2 separate regions of the Homo sapiens genome follow, and region 2 is linked to region 1. Evidence: promoter capture Hi-C in 16 types of primary human blood cells and fetal thymus (Javierre and others, 2016). All regions are on one chromosome and are shown on one strand. The core of a region is centred on a gene start or on the middle of the fragment in contact, and the rest is flanking DNA. Distances in the headings are between cores, read along the strand shown.

The links. Contacts are between HindIII fragments. The CHiCAGO score rates a contact against its expected background, and 5 or more counts as called.
Region 2: a contact is called between a fragment that was not itself captured here and the fragment with the promoter of MYO15B in region 1, in 11 of 17 cell types (endothelial precursors, erythroblasts, megakaryocytes and 8 more). The highest score is 12.8, in endothelial precursors.

Annotation. Positions count from the first base shown.
Region 1 is chr17:75,586,550-75,589,049 of GRCh38, forward strand. MYO15B (myosin XVB) reads left to right here and starts at 1,251. Exons shown (of 64, transcript NM_001395058.1): 1 at 1,251-2,500. The coding sequence starts at 1,509. RefSeq lists enhancers at 1,067-1,900, 1,403-1,472, 1,901-2,500 and a silencer at 2,353-2,482. The HindIII fragment of the contact is 9,041 bases long and covers 1-2,500 here.
Region 2 is chr17:75,744,852-75,750,675 of GRCh38, forward strand. It overlaps ITGB4 (integrin subunit beta 4), which reads left to right. Exons shown (of 40, transcript NM_000213.5): 27 at 3,990-4,194; 28 at 5,260-5,417. Among named protein-coding and RNA genes, the nearest start is that of GALK1, 17 kb to the right of the region's middle. The HindIII fragment of the contact is 2,980 bases long and covers 2,099-5,078 here.

The sequences.
Region 1 (2,500 bases), core at 1-2,500:
GCATGTGCCACCACACCTAGGTAATTTTTGTATTTTTAGTAGAGATGGGGTTTCACCATGTTGGCCAGGCAGATCTCGAACTCCTGACATCAGGTGATCCACCCACTTCGGCCTCCCAAAATGCTGGGATTACAGGCATGAGCCACCTCACTTGGCCAGGATCCACTTTGGATGTAGAAACCCATCAATAAGGAATTGGTTCAACCATGGTGCATTTATTTGCAAGGAAGAGAGGGAGGAGAGAAGGGAGGAAGGCAGGCTGGCTTTTTATGGTATTATTATGAAATCACCAGATTACATTGTTAAGTGAAAAAGGCAAAGTGGAGACCCCGGAGCTACATAAGCTACCACTTGTGCTAAAGGGGAAAAATATAATATTTGCTTTTCTCTGCATGGAAAGTTTTTGTTGTTGTTTCTTTGTTTTTGAGACAAACAAAATGCTGTCACCCAGGCTGGAGTGCAGTGGTGTGATCTCAGCTCACTGCAAGCTCTGCCTCCTGGGTTCATGCCATTCTCTCCTGCCTCCTGGGTTCATGCCATTCTCTTGCCTCAGCCTCCCGAGTAGCTGGGACTACAGGCGCCCCCCACCACGACCGGCTAATTTATCGTATTTTTTAGTAGAGACGGGGGTTTCACCATGTTAGCCAGGATGGTCTCCATCTCCTGACCTCGTGATCCGCCCTCCTTGGCCTCCCAGAGTGCTGGGATTACAGGCGTGAGCCACCGCGCCCGGCCAACCTGGAAAATTTTGCAAGGAAATACAGAAATGGGTAACCTCAGGGGAACACTGAGTACATAGGCTGAGGGTCAGGAATGGGAGACTTTTATCTTGTAATGTTTGGATGTTTGAATTATGTGAATGTATTACCTGTTTTAAAAATAGATATTTTAAAAACACACACATTGGGGCAATCAGGAATGTATGGGGTGTGGTTCTGTTCCACAACTCCAAGGAGGTAGACAGGCATGTTTTACACCAGTTCAAGATGTACATTTATGTTTTATGTACTTTTCGGTAAATTGTATTTATTCCACAATTGAAAAGAACAAAAACCCTAGCGACTCATGGAGTGCTGCCGTGTGCCAGGGTGGGCCTGGCCCCAGTCCCTTGGAACCCTCAGAAGGAAGAAGTCCAGACAGGTTCTCTGGGCCCTTCCTTGCTGGGCAAGCACTGAGGTGGGAGTGGAGCATGGACCCCCTCAGTCTGGCGCGGTGCGAGGCTGGCCTGGCTGGCAGCGCCTCCCGGCGGCACTGTTGCCCTGTCCGCAGCTGTAGCGTCTCCTGTTTCCTGGGCGCCTCTATTCCATTGTTGGCCGAGGGGGTCAGGACCCGCCGCCTTCTGCATTATTGATGGTCCTGTAAGGCGGGCACCTCGGGGAGTAGAGCCTGTAGCCCCTGCGAGAGCAGAGCCGGGTGGTGCACTGCACAGAAGGTCACCGCGGGAGGCCAAATCCCCGGGGAGGGGAAAGGACCTGGGCGTCGGGAAGCCCGTCTCCTTTGGGCCAGCCATGGGCAGGAACCAGCGCAAAGCGCCCCAGCGCCTGGAGAGGCCCGGGAGGCCGGCCTCAGGGGAGCAGGAGTCGGGGTCGGCCAGCGCGGATGGCGCGCCCAGCCGGGAACGCCGTTCCGACCGCGGGCAGGCGGACAGGGCGAAACCGGCGGCCGAGCCTGCCACCGCCGGGGGCCAGGGAACCCCTGGTGGCCGCAGGAAGCCCACTGCAGAGGGGAACGGCGGCTGCAGACGCCCAGGGGCTGGGCTGTCCCCGAAAGCCCAGGAGAGGCAAAGCAACGCGCAGCGTCAGGGACGCGGGCCCAGGGGCGGCCGCGGGGGGCGCCTGGAGGAGGGAAGCCTCTCCGGAGGAGAAGAGCTGGGCGGCCGCCGTAGGAGGAAGCGGAAAGATAAGGGGCCCTCGGCTCGGCGGGGCCGCCGGACGCCCAGGAGCCTCAATGGGGACACGTCGGGTGGGGACGGAGGCAGCTCCTGTCCGGACAGCGAAACCCGCGAGGCCCAGGAGAGCGGCAGCCAGCGCGGCACAGCCCGGGAGCTGCGGCCCACGCCGGAGCCTACGGACATGGGCTCGGAAGGGACAAAAACCGGGCCGGAGTCAGCGCTGGAGCCAAGCAGCGACGGCCTGGACAGCGACTGGCCCCACGCAGATACCCGGGGCCGGGAAGGGTCGTCGGGGACGGGGCCCCTGGGAGCCAGCGAGCATTCCGGCGGGGACTCCGACTCGAGTCCGCTGGGGACCGGACCTGGACGGGGCTCTCGGGCAGCTATGGCCTCCAGGACCTTCGAGGACAGCTCGCGGGCTCCTCGGGACACTGGGCCGGCCAAGGACGCGAGCGACAACCGGGCGCAGCGGGGCGCCGAGCCAGAAACAATGCAGGCCTCGACGGCCCGGGCTCCGCGCCACCAGGTCGGAAAGGCGGTGGGGCAGGTGCCAGCGGCGGCAGGCGAGGGCGAAGCGGGAGCCGCAGCAGGAGCGGGGCCGGAGGACCC
Region 2 (5,824 bases), core at 2,339-4,838, 160 kb after region 1:
CTCCTGACCTCAAGTGATCCACCCACCTCGGCCTCCCAAAGTGCTGGGATTACAGGAGTGAGCTACCACGCCCGGCCTAGTTTTTGTATTTTTAGAAGAGATGGGGTTTTGCCATGTTGGCCAGGCTGGTCTTAAACTCCTGATCTCAAGTGATCCGCCCACCTCGGCTTCCCAAAGTGCAGGGATTACAGGTGTAAGCCAGTGCACCTGGCCTTTCTAGTTTTTAAATGTTGGCAACAAATCCATAATTAAAAACAAAGGCGGGGCATGGTGGCTCACACCTGTAATCCCAGCACTTTGGGAGGCTAAGGTGGGAGAATCACTTAAACCCAGGAGTTCAAGACCAGCCTAGGCAACGTGGTGAGACCATGTCTATACATATAATTTAAACATTAGCTGGGCATGGTAGTGCATACTTGTGGACCCAGCTACTTGGAAGGCTGAGGCAGGAAGATCACTTGAGGCCAGGAGGTTGAGGCTACAGTGAGCCATGTTCATGCCACTGTACTTCAGCCTAGGCAACAGAGTAAGACCCTGTCTAAAAAAATAATAATAATTAATTTTTTAAAAATCAAACAAAAAAACAAAGAAACAAAACCTGGCTCAGTGCAGTAGCTCATGCATGTAATCCCAACACTGTGGGAGGGCACAGTGGGAGGATCACTTGAGCCCAGGAGTTGCAGGCCAGCTTGGGCAACATAGTAAGACCCTGTCTCTATTTTAAAAAAATAATAATAATAATAAAGGCCAGGCGAGGTGGCGTATGCCTGTAATCCTAGCACTGTGGGAGGCCAAGGCAGGTGGATCGCCTGAGGTCACGAGTTCGAGACCAGCCTGGCCAACATGGTGAAACCCTGTCTCTACTAAAAATACAAAAATTAGCTGGGCATGGTGACACGTGCCTCTAATCCCAGCTACCCGGGAGGCCGAGGCAGGAGAATTGCTGGAAACCAGGAGGTGGAGGCTGCAGTGAACCGAGATCATGCCACTGCACTACAGCTTGAGCGACAGAGTGAGACTCTGTCTCGAAAAAAGAAAAAAAAAATTATCTCAAAAGTAATAAAGTCTCGCCTCCCTGGGCCCACAGGCCCATTCAGCAAACATAGGGGAGCGCGTAGTCAGCAGGCCCGGGCTGCCTGGCCACATCCTAATTTTATTTACTTCTTTTTATTGACAGGAACTGTTCTCATTATTTTTCCAATGTCCCCCCATAAAAATTCCAAAGAATAATTTTTTTCTTTTAAGAGACAAGGTCTCCCTCTAGTCCAGGGTGGAGTACAGGGGCACAGTCCTAGCTCTCTGCAATCTTGAACTCCTGGGCTCAAGCAGTCCTTCAACCTCAACCTCCCAAGTAGCTGGGACTACAGATGTCCACCACCGCACGGCTAATTTTGTATTTTTTTTTCTTTGAGACGGAGTCTCACTCTGTTGCCCAGGCTGGCGCGATCTCAGCTTACTGCAACCTCCACCTCCAGGGTTCAAGCGATTCTCCTGCCTCAGCCTCCCAAGTAACAGGGACTACAGGTGCGCACCACCACACCCAGCTAAATTTTGTATTTTTAGTAGAGACGGGGTTTCACCATGTTGGTCAGGCTGGTCTCGAACTCCTGACCTCGTGATCCGCCCACCTCAGCCTCCCAAAGTGCTGGGATTACAGGCATCAGCCACCGCGCCCGGCCATTTTATATTTTTAGTAGAGATAGGGTTTCGCCATGTTGCCCAGGCTGGTCTCAAACTCCTAGGATAACATGATCCTTTTGCCTTGCCTTCTGGCTACCCTGTTACACTTGTATAAAGATGCTTTGAGGCTGGGTACAGTGGCTCATGCCTGTAATCCCAGCACTTTGGGAGGCCAGGGCGGGCAGATCGCTTGAGATCAGGAGTTCAAGACCAGCCTGGCCAACATGGCGAAACCCTGTCTGTACCAAAAATACAGAAAATTATCTGGGTGTTGTGGTGTGCACCTGTGGTCCCAGCTACTCGGGAGGCTGAGGTAGAGCCCAGTAGGTGGAGGTTGCAGTTAGCCGAGATAGTGCCACTGCACTCCAGCCTGGGTGACAGAGTGAAACCCCTGTCTCAAAAAAAAAAAAAAAAAAAAAGCTTTGATATTTGTTTTTTAAAACATTTTAATTTCTCACCTTTTTATTTTTAAAAACTTCAACTTACAGAAAAATGGAAGGAACAGTAAAACTAGCACCCATTTACCCTTTACATAGATTCACCGATTGCTAATATTTGCTTTCTCTCTCTTTCTATATAGATAGCAACATAGAAATATAAATAGAGATGTGGACATCTGTATCTTCACATTGATTATACTAGTACCTAAAATTAGTCCATATTCCAGCCAGGCGTGGTGGCTCACACCTGTAATCCCAGCACTTTGGGAGGCTGAGGCAGGTGGATCACCTGAAGTCAGGAGTTTGACACCAGCCTGACCAACATGGAGAAACCCCATCTCTACTAAAAATACAAAAATTAGCCGGGCATGGTGGCACACGCCTGTAATCTCAGCTACTAGGGAGGCTGAGGCAGGAGAATCATTTGAACCCAGTGGGTGGAGGTTGCAGTGAGCCAAGATTGCGCCACTTCACTCCAGTCTGGGCAAAAGAGCAAAACTCCATCCCAAAAAATATATAAAATAAAATAAAATAGGTCCATATTCCAATGTCCCCTTGTTCGGATGTCCCAATAATGTCCTTTATAGCGTTTTTCCCCCCAATGCAGGAACTAATCAAGGATTTGGCATTGACTTTTGTCACGTGTCTTGACTCCTTTAATCTAGAAAAGTTTCCTGGCTTTGTCTTCCGTGACACTGACTTTTGTTAAGACAAGGTCTCGCTCTGTCACCCAGGCTGGAGTACAGTGCCTCACTGCAACCTCTGCCTCCCGGGTTCAAGCAATTCTCCTGCCTTAGCCTCCCGAGTAGCTGGGATTACAGGCACCGGCCACCATGCCGGGCTAATGACACTGACGTTTTTGAAGTATCCATGTAGGTTGCTTGCAGGCAGCTCCCTGGTTTGTTTTTTGTTTGTTTGTTTTACAACTATGGGTCTCACTTTCTGAGTTGGGTGGCATGAGGTTGCCTCCCCAGCCATCGCCCTGGCTGCTGCGCCTGGAATTGAAATCTTGCCCTGAAGTGCCACCTAGTGGTCTTCTATGTGAAGGATTTTCTTTTTCCTCCCAGTTCTTATCCTGGAAAGCTCAGGCATGCTCCACGGCACTGAAAGGAAGATGGGTGGCTCACGCCTGTAATCCCAGCACTTTGGGAGGCCAAGGTGGGCGGATCGCTTGAGGCCGGGAGTTCAAGACCAGCCTAGGCAACATAGGGTAACCGTGCCTCTACAAAAAAAAAAAAAAAAAAAATAGCCAGGTGTGGTGCACGCCTGTAGTCCCAGCTACTCAGGCGGCTGAGGGGAAGGATGGCCTGAGCCCAGGAGGTCAAGGCTTCAGTGAGCTGTGATTGTGCCCCTACACTCCAGCCTGGGTGACAGAGTGAGACCCTGTCTCAAAAACAAACAAACAAACAGAAACGTGGCTGGGCATGGTGGCTCATGTCTGTAATCCCAGCACTTTGGGAGGCCAAGGTGGGAGGATCACTTGAAGTCAGGAGTTCGAGACCAGCCTGGCCAACATAGTGAAACCCCATCTCTACTAAAAATACAAAAATTAGCTAGGCGTGGTGGCAGGTGCCTGTAATCCCAGCTACTCAGGAAGATGAGGTGTGAGAATCATTTGAACCTGGAAGGTGGAGGTTGCAGTAAGCCGAGATCATGCCACTGCACTCCAGCCTAGGTGACAGAGTGAGATTACGCCTCAAAAAAAAAAACAAACAAAAAAAACACAAAAACCTGAACCTCGTGTAAGTACTCCACCCAGCAAGCAGGGATGGTCTCTGCAGTGTCCATGAGGTTGGGAGGGAGCGTGTGGCCATGACTCTTGCCTCAGCCCCCAGCCATGACCCTGACCCTGACCCCCTCCACTCCCAGGACTACATCCCCGTGGAGGGTGAGCTGCTGTTCCAGCCTGGGGAGGCCTGGAAAGAGCTGCAGGTGAAGCTCCTGGAGCTGCAAGAAGTTGACTCCCTCCTGCGGGGCCGCCAGGTCCGCCGTTTCCACGTCCAGCTCAGCAACCCTAAGTTTGGGGCCCACCTGGGCCAGCCCCACTCCACCACCATCATCATCAGGGACCCAGGTAGGCAGAGCCTGGGGGTCGGCTTAAGCAGGAGGAGAGGGAAGACTGGGGGGTCTCTCAACTAGGTCTGTCAGACTTAGCAAATCCAAACACAGGACGCCCAGGTAAATCTGAATTTCAGGTAAACAACATACACGTTGGTAGGATAAGTATGTCCCATGCAATATTTGGAACATACTTATCCTTTTTTTTGCAAAATGGGCTGGGTATACTGGCTCACACCTGTAATCCCAGCATTTTGGGAGGCCAAGGTGGGAGGATCACTTGAGCCCAGGAGTTCTAGACCAGCCTGGGCAACATAGTGAGACCTCGTCTCTACAAAAAATAAACAAATTAGCTTGGCATAGTGGTGTGCACCTGCAGTCCCAGCTATTCCGGAGACTGAGGTGGGAGGATCACTTGAGCCCAGGGGGTCTGGGCCGCAGCAAGCTGTGATCGCACCACTGCACAGCACCTGGGCCATGGAATGAGATCCTGTCCCCCAAGAAAAAATAATCTTGTTGTTTATCTGAAATTCAAATGTAACTAGGCATCCTGCATTTTATCTGGCAACCCTACAGCTAGAGAGGCTGTTGTCACCACACAATAGGAATTCTCCCATCAGACCCTGGCCCTTTGGCTTCAGCCTCAATTCCAACTAACATGCAGATGCTTGTGGAAGGAAGGAGTGGGCCAGTTAGTTCCTATCAGCCCTCAGCCTCCCAACTGGGAGAAAGCCTGCCAGGAAGATGGGAGAGGAGGGAGATACTCAGGGTACAGTGTGGAGATGGGGTGGGGAGCAAATGTTCTCATGTGGAATGTTCCCTGAGCTGCCAAGGGAGAAAGGGGCAGACCAACTCCCTCCCGCTTCTGTTCCTCCAGAGACCCTCCTGGGTCCTCCGCCAAGCTTGGCAGGATGCTCTATGTGGCAGCAATGGGGCACCACCAGGTCTCCAGAGACGCGGGTGGGCAGGTCTGAGTTGAATGCGCTGGGTAGAGCGCCCTGGGTGTTGAAGTGGGTCTCTGGCGCCCCCTGGTGGTGAAGGGGGATCTGAGTGGTTGCCCGGCCCCAACCTGACCCGTTAGATGAACTGGACCGGAGCTTCACGAGTCAGATGTTGTCATCACAGCCACCCCCTCACGGCGACCTGGGCGCCCCGCAGAACCCCAATGCTAAGGCCGCTGGGTCCAGGAAGATCCATTTCAACTGGCTGCCCCCTTCTGGCAAGCCAATGGGGTACAGGGTAAGGCGGGGGGCTGAGGGTCACGACAGGTGGATGGGCGGTCTGGCACCAGCACTCACAGAAGAGGTGGGCCGTCCAAGGCCAGGGCCCCCTGAGAGAGAGCAGACAGTGGAACCTAGCACAGGTGGTCAGAGGGAAACCCGGTCTGTGCTGGGAAAGAGGGAAGACCCATTCCTGAGTTTATCAGACATTTGCCCTCCTTCCTAGAATGGGGCCCCCTCCCACCCCCGCATGGGAGATACCCCCACCTGCTCTGCCCTAGTCCTGACGTGTGCACATGGCAGATCTCTCAGCCCCTCCCTCGGGCCTCATCTGTGCAAAGAGGACAGTAAGGGCAGAGGTCAGAGGAGGGACAGGCAGCTTGGGTGCCTGCTGCTCCCTGCTGACCAGGACCCCTGTCCCTGGGG